4 separate regions of the Homo sapiens genome follow, and regions 2, 3 and 4 are each linked to region 1. The links are contacts of gene promoters, found by promoter capture Hi-C in blood cells and fetal thymus (Javierre and others, 2016). All regions are on one chromosome and are shown on one strand. The core of a region is centred on a gene start or on the middle of the fragment in contact, and the rest is flanking DNA. Distances in the headings are between cores, read along the strand shown. Region 1 holds the start of TFB1M (transcription factor B1, mitochondrial). Region 2 holds the start of FBXO5 (F-box protein 5). Region 3 holds the start of LOC105378076 (a long non-coding RNA gene). Region 4 has its middle 4.5 kb from the start of ZDHHC14.

Region 1 (2,700 bases), core at 145-2,644:
AATAATAAGCTGATACTTGAGTGTGGCCAGTGAGATCAGAACTCAGAAAAAACACAACTCAGGTTGTCTTCTCTCTGTACTTTGCTGTCTGACTCTGGGCATTGTCAAATGACCTCACCTCCCCTATTTCTTCACAGCAAACTAAGAATAATAATCTCATTCACATGGGACCATTGTGAGGAGTACGGGAAATAATGAATATAACTGTGAAATAATGCTTTGTCAGGTATACTGTGTTTTGGACGATAAGATATCTGAATCAAGAGTTTGTACTTCCAGTCTACATTTTGATGCCACGTTGGGCAAATCTCCTTACCTCTATGGTAGTCATCACTATTTTTTAAAGCTAGGAGATTATCTCAGTTCCTTTTAAAACAGCTTTTATAGAAGGTGGTTGAGTTTTCCACTGGAATTTCAAAGTACTCCTCATTTTTATATCCATACCCATAGTTGTTTCGTTTTCCATTAGCTTTTTTAAAAACTTACTAATTGAGGAACAGAAACTTTAAAATTCATTTGTGATCAACGCAGCAATGTCCAAACATAAGCAGGGTTAAAACAGCAAAATTCTCCCACCTATCAGAGAAACTTTAATTTTTTTTTTTTTTTGCTTCGTTGTTTTTATCTCGTATAACGGAAAGACAGAACTCATATTTCAGTCTTCTCTCTGTTCTTAGCTGTAATCCTAGCAAATCGAATGACCTCTTTACACTGGCCAATTATTCATCTGCCAAATAATAACAGCCACCACTGATCACGTGGGAGCTTACCCAATGCCATGCGTGCACTATGTTCTGAACGTGCACACCAGGCGATCTCTCTCATTTAGTGCTCACAATTTTGAGGTAGACATTAGCTCCATTTAACTGATGAAAAAACTGAGGCTGAACGAAGTTAAAAACCCATCATGCAGCATCTGCAGAGCGGCGGTTCTAAAAACGCCTCACAGTAAGAAAGAATTGCTAACAAACAGTAGCTTTGCCTCTAAGCACCCGCTTTTCCTCTAATATTCACAGACAGGTATTTAGAACGTTAAAGAGCCGGAAGCCCTTGGGAACTTCAGGGCGGGAGTAAACCGGCTGCACCTCTCAGAGCAACTCCTCCGAAAAACCCCACCCTGTCCAGGCCCCGCCTCGTCCCGCCCTCCTGGGCGCTCTCCCCATAGCCCGCCCAGGAGAAGCCTAGTCCACCCGGCTCTCCCCCGGCTCTCACAGGCGGAAGCCGCCGACCACCCAGCCTGCCCTTCTCGCGGCAGGACTTAGCGCATGCGCTCTCAGCACGCCGGGAATTTCCTGTCCGCGGTCATCGCTTCCGGTGGGATAGGTCTGACCAATGGGGCTGACTCCGAGGCGGGCCTTAGGTCTCGCAGGTTCCTCCCCTGCGCGTTTCTTTCGGAGCGGCGGTGAAGGTCCTGGGTGAGGTAGGGTTGGATGGTGCTTGCCGCGTATCATGGCTGCCTCCGGAAAACTCAGCACTTGCCGTCTCCCTCCGTTGCCCACGATTCGAGAAATCATTAAGTTGTTAAGACTGCAAGCAGCGAAGCAGCTATCACAGAATTTCCTCCTGGACTTGAGGCTGACAGGTGGATGGCTTAGCAGTGCTCCCCGGATGTCTCCCCAGTGTCCGTGGGGGCGTGGGCCGGGGGGTCTTGCACGTCCCCGCGGGCGGGTGTCCAGGCACTGGCGTGCGACGGGCTTTTGGTCAGGTCCTTCGACCTCTTTGTATCAGAACTCCGGTCCCACCGCCCAGGAGACACGTGAAGTGCGTTGATTGCTCACAAAACTCCGCGTTCGGGGGGGTGTAGCCTGCCGGCAGGCTGCATAAATGCCAAGCTCCCTAGGGGAGGAAGGGTTCATGGGTCGTGAAAGGCGCTAGTGAATATTGGAATCTGGGTCACTGTGAAATCAATCATTCTGAAATAGTACAGCACATGCTGACTGCAGTTGCTTTACATGCAGTTTAAAGTTACCAGAATTTAAATTGATGCGAGGATTTTATCAATAACTTGGTGAAAAGAGTATCCCTCGTATGATTCGTTTTTTAAACGTTTACCTGTTCAGTCTAAGCCTCGGGGGCGCTAATATTCATTCATAAGTACATATTACACAAGCAACATTGTGCTAGTGCCGGGGGTAGGATATGGGCGTGAACAAGGCGGTGTTTCCTCGAGGAGCTTACTTTTAGCAAGTTTACATTCCCACACCTAATTGTTTAAAGTTACTTTTTATGAGATATAATTTATGTGCAATAAAATTAATAAGTTTGAAGTGCTCAATTTGATGAGTTTTGACGAATGTATTTATATATTGGTTTAACCACCATCACCATTGCTTAGTGATGTTCTATGAGATGAGGTTGCAAAAATATATTACAAATACGTCTACTAAGTCACGGCTGGAGTACTTAGGTTTTGAGATTTTCATATTTCATTCTATTTAGTCCCACTTCAGAAGTTGAAAAGAGCAGTAAATCACACCCAAAAAGTTCATTTTCACTTAAATGAAGCACACTCCAGAAAACATAAAATGTTTTATTTCTTGGACATGTAGTCTTTATTCTGCCTGTACCAATATGACTTTGGATAAAATAATTTAACTCAAGTTTTCTCTTTTTTTTTTTTTTCTTTTTTTAAGATGGAGTTTCACTCTTGTTGCCCAAGCTGGAGTGCAATGGCATGATCTCAGCTCACTGCAACCTCCG
Region 2 (2,700 bases), core at 56-2,555, 2.3 Mb after region 1:
CCACCCAGCACTTGTATGATTCATCCTAATCCTGGCCGCGCCCCACCGGACTCGTCACTAACGGTACTGAAAACTGACTACAGCCAAGAACTCACTCCGAGGCTGCAGAAAGGCACCAGAGGGAAACAGCAAAGGAGGATTCGCCGTTTTGGAGTTCACATCCCGTTGCTTCACTGGGCTGTAGCCATAAAGCTGAGTTCAGGGAATGCACTGCCCTACTTAAGTGCATATTCAAATTGTGAAAAGTTAAGCATCACTAATACTCCGGTACACTTTCATACTGACGTCCATGCCAGCCATCACTAAAAACTCCCTTGGCCACGGGGGTCCAGCCCAAGAGGGCGGGCACTTCTATTTATTCTTTTTTTGGGAGCAGGACTACTGTCTCCTACACCTGGCCCTTTAAGGAAAGGAACAAAAACCCAGGGGAGCGTAGCTGCACACTCAGTAAACTTAACGTTCCTATAAACCAGTAGCGTCTGAAGTGTGGTTGAAAATACAAATAAACGCGCTTGCAAGGAAGAAGTGCCTCGGTCCTACCCTCGGCCCCGCCGGAAGGCCCTGGGAGATGCAGCCGCAGGTCTCCTGCTACAGCCGCTGGGGAAGGCCGCACAGCCTCCTCGCCCACCCCGGAGGAAAAAATCGCGGGGGACTCCAGTGCGCAGGCGCCGACCCGCCAACTCCGCAGCCACAGCCCGCCAAGGCGCCTGCGCAGAGGCGTGGGTCAAGGGGAGGGTCGAGTTAGGAGGGAGAGCAGAGCGCGCGCGTAAATCCTAGAGAGGCGGGCTAAGCTGGACTGGGGGGAGGGTCCGTCTTCCGGAAAGTCTGGATTCCCGGACGAGCCGAGTTGCTGCTCACCGAACTCCCGTTCGAGAGATGATCGAAGAAAGTCGGCTACCATTTGTACCCATCAAAGATCTCCAGATGGAAGCCAGCGCTGAATTTGGGCTGAGATTAGGACTTGCAGGAGGCCGGTCCAGAAGACGGCGGAAGGAATCTTGGCGGGCGCACGCATGCGTGATAGACCCTCCACACGTGTGGCCGGGCCGCGGCCTCCCCGTGCTCGGAGGTCCCGCCCCCGGCCGTAGCATCTTTCCGGACGTGGGGAGCCGGTAAGCTGGAAGGGGGCTGGGCTTCGCGGCTCGGCCCCGCCTCGGCAGCCTCCAATTGGGCGCGGACGAGGGCGCCCCCACCCACTGCCCTCCTATTGGTGCGCGCATGCAAGCGACGCGTCTCATTGGACCGCGCGGATTTAGGCACCAAATTCAAAGATTTTAAAAGTACCAGCTGGCGCCTTTTAAGAGATACAGGTCTGTGAAGCAGGCAGGTTGCTCAGCTGCCCCCGGAGCGGTTCCTCCACCTGAGGCAGACTCCACGTCGGCTGGCATGAGCCGGCGCCCCTGCAGCTGCGCCCTACGGCCACCCCGCTGCTCCTGCAGCGCCAGCCCCAGCGCAGTGACAGCCGCCGGGCGCCCTCGACCCTCGGATAGTGAGTGAGGGGAGCGGTCGCGAGGGGGGCGCGCACGCCAGGAGGGGTGCACGGGGAGGGTCGCAGCCTGAGACCCTGACCCGACGTCCCTCGGAGCCTGGACGCGCGGCCATGCCACACGCCCGGCCTCGGGCGGCGGCAGCGGTTCCTGGGTCCGGGAGGAGGGCGGCTGGGTGTCGGGGGGAAGCCAGAAGAGCCAGATGTGCAGGGGCGGGATGGCGGGCCGCGGGGTCCCGCCACCCACGCCGACCGTGGACTCCAGCCCCGGGAGGTGCGGGTCGTGGCATCCCAGGGCGCCCTTTTTCCTCCTCGGAAGACCCACCTACCCCACCCTGCTTGAATAGGCGCCAAATGCCCCTCCCCTCCCCCACCCCGGGGCCCCCGGCGGTGACAGGGCTGCGAGCGAGAAGCCCCCAGGGCCTGGCCAGGTGCCTCACCTTCTCCCCCTGCGCCCCTTTTCTACATCTGCCCCGCACCCTCACAGCCAAAGGCAGTTTCCCCGATTTTTCGCGGTCCCAGCCTTGCTGGCGGGCGCGGGAGATCGCGCTCGCGGTTATCTCCCGCCTCCTCCGCGTGTCCCGCGCCCTGAGGGGCAGCCCCACCGATCCCTCAGGAGTTCCAGGGTCTCCCTCCCCACTCCCGCCAAATGGAGAGACACCCCCCCAACTCATTGGACCAAACTCAACTGGGACATCCAAACAAAAACGTTACTTTTTCCCAATTTTTTCTCCCTTTGCCCGTTAACCCAGTCTCAGGGCCTGGAGTGGAAAGGGAAGACTTTAAAAAAAGCAATTTTTACTACGAACCTTGAATTTGTCCATAGTATTAAGATGATTTTGTAAGAATCGAAGAATTGGTGACTTTTTCCCGATAACTCATGAAGAATTAGATAGTCCTTTATTTCAAAGCTTGCAGAGAATGGAATGCACTCAAATGCTTATTTTTATCCTCTTTGTTGCTACCTCTAAATAAAATCTATATGCACTTATTTTTACCTGAGAAATAACCCAAAATGAAAAAATTTAGCAATTCGGCATTGTACTATTTTGTAATGACTCTATTATTAAAAAAGAACTCTAGAAAAAAATACTTAATTTTAATTTTAATAGATTAAATATATTTCTAGAAGATCCTGGATCGTCAGTCTACCATCGAAATTCTGAAGCTTGATGGCCTTATGAGGGTTTTTTTTTTTTCTTTTTTGATAACTC
Region 3 (2,700 bases), core at 26-2,525, 2.0 Mb before region 1:
CTCCACAAACAGGCCTTGACCAAGGAGCTCGCACCTCCTCCTCTCCTTGGTATGTATCCCACAAAGATCCTCAAAATGCAAATTTTGAGGCTGAAGTGTAAACCATTGGTTTGTGTCAATTGCCTTTTCAGTCCTGTGTATATTGGGAAAACAAGCTTTCAAGTAGAAAAAAGGAAGATTGCCTTTTACTTTGGGGATTTAGAAAGAAGATAGAGGTTTGTGAGCTGCAACATCCAAAACAAAGCAGACACCAGTTTCCTAGGATGTGCAGTTACTTTCAATGGAGACCAGCTCTGGAATGCAGGACTCTGTAATTTCCCTAGATTACAAGATCTATTATCTCCCTTCTGTTCCTTATAGTAAGCAGTGATATAAACCTTAAATTATTATTATTATTATTATCATCATCATCATCATCATCTTGAGACGGAGTCTTGCTCTGTCACCCAGGCTGGAGTGCAGTGGCATGATCTTGGCTCACTGCAACCTCTGCCTCCTGGGTTGAAGCGATTCTCCTGCCTCAGCCTCCCAAGTAGCTGAAATTACAGGCGCCGCCACCACACCCAGCTAATTTTTATATTTTTAGTAGAGATGGGGTTTCGCCATGTTAGCCAGGCTGGTCTCAAACTCCTGACCTCAAGTGATCTGCCTGCCTCGACCTCCCAAAGCACTAGGATTACAGGTTTGAGCCACTGTGCCCAGCTTAATCCTTAAAATGTTTCTGTCGTTTTCTAAGGGGACAGCAAAGAAGAGAGTGGAGGAATCTGCACTTTTTCTCCCTAAGCAGTCTTGGGAAAACAGATTTCCAAGTGCTAAAGTGTATGGTGTGGATTTTAAGAGGTGTAATCCATAAGAGGAAGGCACACAGAAGATGTTCTCGAAGTGGAATCCGTGGCAACAGCATCACCTGGGAACTTAGACATACACGTTCTCAGCCCCCACTGAGTCACAGACTCTGGGAATGGGGCCCAGCAAGCTGAGTGCAATAAGCCTTCCAGGTGATTCCAATATTCAAGTTCACACTTGAGGACGACTGGCACAGTGGATAAGGAAGGACCTGCTTTTAAGCCCTGTCTCTGCCACTTAACAGCTGTGTGAGCTTGAGCAAGTTAGTCTTTCTGAGTTTATGGAGAGGAATAAATGAGATAATGTACTTGAAGCACTTAGTGCAATGTCAGATATATAGAAAGCACTCAATACATGTTAGCAGCTATGGTTACTGTTATGTATGAGGGGAAGGAAAAAGGATAGGTCCTTCAACAAATTAGCACAGCATTTACCAGCTTAAAAGCCCTTTCAGATACTGACGTGTTTCCAGGAAATCCAAAGGTCACATACATTCTGTGTGATCTCATCCACACAAAAATTTGAACAGAGCAGTAGTTTTTTATCATCAGAAACCCCACGGAGCTTTTACATTCTGCCCTGCCACCCGCGGGCCTTCAGAGCTCTAATCTCCCGTGGTAGATAGACCTTGATAATCCATCATTTTTAAAAATCCCCATAGGCAATGCTGCAAAATAGCTACTGGAATCAAAGGTGGTAATAGTTAGAGCTAACATGTATTGAATATTTATATGTGCCAGGCACTGTGCTAACTTCTTTATAGATGTTGCTTCATTTAATTCTCACAGTAATCCTATGAGTTAGGTACTATCAGTTTTTGTGTGTGGGGGGGGCGGGATGGGGTGGATGGCAGAGTTTCACTCTTGTCATCCAGGCTGGAGTGCAACGGCTCGATCTCGGCTCACTGCAACCTCTCCCTCCCAGGTTCAAGCCATTCTCCTGCCTCAGCCTCCCGAGTAGCTGGGATTACAGTCCCGCATCATTAGACTCCGCTAATTTTTGTATTTTTAGTAGAAACGGGGTTTCACCATGTTGGCCAGGCTGATCTCGAACTTCTGATCTCCACCTGCCTCAGCCTCCCAAAGTGCTGGGATTACAGGCGTGAACCACCGCGCCTGGCCTACTACCAGTTTTTAAATTTTACAGGTGAGGAAACTGAGCTATAGAGGGGCTAAGTTACCCCAAGTTCACACACCTGAGAAGCGGTTTAGGACCCGAGCCCAGGTTTGAGCTATTAACTGCACTTCACTGACGCAAAAATGGATGCATTCATTTACTCATTCATCCAACATGCATTTGATGTTGGTAACCAGTTAATATCTGAAAGCTGGGGGATATAAACTGAACATAGAGTCCCATCTCCATCCTCAGGAAACTCATGCCCTCCGGTGATGGGGGGCAGGACAAATAGCAGAGAGACCGCCTTATTTTACAAGATGTCATTGTTCTCTGAGAGGCTGAAAAGATTTTCTATCACCACTAGCCTCCTCCTCTCCACGGCCATTTACAGAATGGGCAAACCAGCCTCCCAGCGGAAGACCAAGCTTGCTAGCGGTCAACGTTGCCGGCAGCTCTGCAAGCGCTTCCAGCGGGCGTCGCTCTCCTTTCGGGGGTGGTACTTTCATTCGGTCATCCTGTGAGTGTTCCACTTCCCGACGGAGGCCGAGCACTCACACCGCGGCGGAGGTACCCGTCACCGCAGAACCGGGTGGCTGGCTCTCCTCCAGGGAGAAAGCCTGTCACTTATTCCTCAACACTGTTGGGAAGTTACCTAGAAAAGTACAGACAGAAGACCTAGGCTTGCGTTTTAGAATCGTGGAGTGTTAGCGCTGGCCAAATCGTTGGACACAATGT
Region 4 (2,700 bases), core at 173-2,672, 2.1 Mb before region 1:
ATTCAGAGGGCAAAGGCCCACTCTTCCTATATGCAGGTTCTGTGGAGCCTGTTTAAGGACCTGAATATGTGCAGATTCAGGTATACGCAGGTGATCCTGGAACCAATCTCCTGAGGATACTGAGGGATGACTGTAAAACCTACTGTATAAGGGATGGTAGAGTTTATTCATTTATTTTACAGTTATCTATTTCAGGGCCTAGATTGTGCTAAGTACTGTTTTAGCAGCAGTGATACAAAAAGATCCAAGATAGAAGCTTATATTTGGGGACTGGGGGAGAGGTGGAGAGAATAAACAAATAAATAAATGACTAGTAAGACAATTTCAGAGAGTAATTACAAGAACGAAAAAACAAAGCAGGGTTATGGGATGGAGAGACTGGGGTCGGGCAGAGAATCGAATGATGGGAAGGGGCAAGTACCAAGTCCTCAAGGCAGAACAACCTGGAAAATTCTAGGGGTACAAAGAAAAACCAGTCTGGCTGGAGTGGAGCGAGGGCCAGGGAGAGAGGGAAAAAGGAACAGGAATTCATTCTGTGTGCACCAGCATCAATTCTGTATGCCACACTCTGTACCCACCATCGGTGTAAGTGTTGAGGGGTCTGAAAGAAAAATCACCGTCCTTGCCCTCCAGGAATGTATAGATTCCAAACTTTAATGCTAGAGGGACGTCAGCGTATCTAGAATTAGAGACCAAAACTTGTATTTCTCAAACAAGGACACTGAAAAGTCAAAAGACCTGCTAAAAATTCCTTGAGAATGCCTCGCCAATAACAAATAATCCAAAAATGAGTCTTGAATTGAATTGAAAGAGTGCATGATCTACTTTTGCTAAATGGGGTTTAGCCTAATACTGCCTCTTTACATATTTTAAGTTTGGCCTAAAGGTTTCTCTGTACACTGAACTGTAGCCTAAATGGAAGTGTAAACAGAGTGTGATCTACTCGGGTGTCAATTACTGAGTTTTGGCCACTCAATTGTGGCCAGCTGTTCAAACCATGTTCAAATAAGACAAATGCTGAGCTGTAACCATCTGGCTGTTTCCGTACCTCATTTCCGCTTTCTGTACGTCACTTTCTTTTTTCTGTCCATAAATTCTCTTCCACCACGCGACTGCACTGCAGTCTTTGAGGCTACCCTGGCTCAGGAGGCTGCCCAATTCATGAATCATTCTTTGCTCAGTTAAACTATTTTAAATTGAATTCAGCTGAAGTTTTTCTTTTAGCACTTTAAAGCTTTAGAAAATTGATAATGTTTAGTGCTTGTCACGTGCAGGTCAGTATGATGAAGGTAAATGCGGCAGAGAAACTACAGTTAAGGTTGGGAAACAAGATGGAGGCACATGAGAAATTCAATAATACAAGAGAACGATATTATAAAAATAATGATCTTTTCTCCAGAGTATTTTTGTATTAGTCAATCTCCTGGTTCTTTATACATTTAGATCATTAAATCCGGAGGACAACCTGATGAGGCAGGGATTATTATCTTTATTTCACAGAGGAGGAAACTGAAGATCAGAGAAGTTAGGTGATTTGCCCAGGGTTTTGCAGTAAGTAAGTAATAGAGTCAAGATTCTAGGCCAGGTATGAATGTCTGACTCAAGCTTTCCTATATCCCCCACACAATGGAAAGAGCACGCGGTCTGATGAACCAACAACTGAGTGGAATAGAGAAATCATCTTGATTTCAGAGTGAAGAGAAATCTCAGGCCCAGCCTGTAGCAAAGTGCACCTCTGACCTTGACAGTTTGGACAGGAAGAATATGAAAGGGTTAGTCTCTCAGGGAAATGGGGATGGGTACAGAAAAGTAAATTATTGGGAAAGTGCATGATGTTTCTAGCTGGAGTAGAACTGACAGGGATCCAAGCACAATTAGTTTATTTGGGAGGGGATTGCAGAAAACACCAGCAGAAGAGTGAGGAAGTGAGATAGGGAGGGAAAAGAAACCAATAAAGCATGCGCTATCGAGCAAGCTACCATGGTGGGCCACCGAAATCGGACCCTCTAGGGCAGTGGTCCCCAACTTTTTTGGCACCAAGGACCAGTTTTGTGGAAAACAATTTTTCCACGAACTGGAGGGTGAGGGGATGGGGGCATGGTTTTGGGATGAGTCAAGTGCATTACATTGATTGTGTACTTTATTTCTATTATTAGTATTACATTATAATATATAAAGAAGTAATTATACAACTCACCATAAGGTAGAATCAGTGGGAGTCTGAGCTGTTTTCCTGCAATTAGACGGCCCCAGTGGGGGTGATGGGAGGTAGTGACAGATCATCAAGCATTAGAGTCTCATAATGAGCATGCAACCTAGGTCCCTCACATGCTCAGTTCACAACAGGGTTCACACTCCTATGAGAATCTAATGCTAATCTGACAGGAGATGGAGCTCAGGCAGTAATGCGAGCGACGGGGAGGGCTGTAAATACAGATGAAGCTTCGCTCACTTGTCCACTGCTCACCTCCTGCTGCGCAGCCCGGTTCCTAACAGGCCGTGGACCAGTACTGGTCCGTGTCTCTGGGGTTTGGGGATCCCTGCTCTAGGGGACTCTGGGAGGCCCGAGGTGTGCAACCTGCCAGAGTTATCCCAACTGAGGGGCAAGAAAGCTGAAGTTTATTCACCAATTCCCCATCTGTTATTAGTCGAGACCTCCTTCTGGGAGCATTACTCTACCTTCTTTACGTTTTCATCACT

Evidence for each region. Contacts are between HindIII fragments. The CHiCAGO score rates a contact against its expected background, and 5 or more counts as called.
Region 2: the fragment with the promoter of FBXO5 here is called in contact with the fragment with the promoter of TFB1M in region 1 in 3 of 17 cell types (total CD8 T cells, naive CD8 T cells and fetal thymus); the score reaches 8.4 in total CD8 T cells.
Region 3: a fragment that was not itself captured here is called in contact with the fragment with the promoter of TFB1M in region 1 in 2 of 17 cell types (fetal thymus and monocytes); the score reaches 7.3 in fetal thymus.
Region 4: a fragment that was not itself captured here is called in contact with the fragment with the promoter of TFB1M in region 1 in 1 of 17 cell types (fetal thymus); the score reaches 5.2 in fetal thymus.

What each region holds. Positions count from the first base shown.
Region 1 is chr6:155,313,178-155,315,877 of GRCh38, reverse strand. It overlaps TFB1M (transcription factor B1, mitochondrial), which reads left to right and starts at 1,394. Exons shown (of 7, transcript NM_016020.4): 1 at 1,394-1,582. The coding sequence starts at 1,450. RefSeq lists enhancers at 580-629, 1,180-1,229, 311-1,301, 1,300-1,619 and a silencer at 1,050-1,129. The HindIII fragment of the contact is 4,007 bases long and covers 1-2,700 here.
Region 2 is chr6:152,981,646-152,984,345 of GRCh38, reverse strand. FBXO5 (F-box protein 5) reads left to right here and starts at 1,305. Exons shown (of 5, transcript NM_012177.5): 1 at 1,305-1,489. The coding sequence starts at 1,387. RefSeq lists enhancers at 342-461, 752-971 and silencers at 1,002-1,321, 1,802-1,871. The HindIII fragment of the contact is 9,521 bases long and covers 1-2,399 here.
Region 3 is chr6:157,323,884-157,326,583 of GRCh38, reverse strand. TMEM242-DT (TMEM242 divergent transcript) reads right to left here. Exons shown (of 1, transcript NR_187268.1): 1 at 2,107-2,700. It overlaps LOC105378076 (a long non-coding RNA gene), which reads right to left and starts at 353. Exons shown (of 3, transcript XR_943165.2): 1 at 1-353. RefSeq lists an enhancer at 2,353-2,700. The HindIII fragment of the contact is 2,235 bases long and covers 158-2,392 here.
Region 4 is chr6:157,375,388-157,378,087 of GRCh38, reverse strand. No RefSeq gene overlaps it. Among named protein-coding and RNA genes, the nearest start is that of ZDHHC14, 4.5 kb to the left of the region's middle. The HindIII fragment of the contact is 371 bases long and covers 1,237-1,607 here.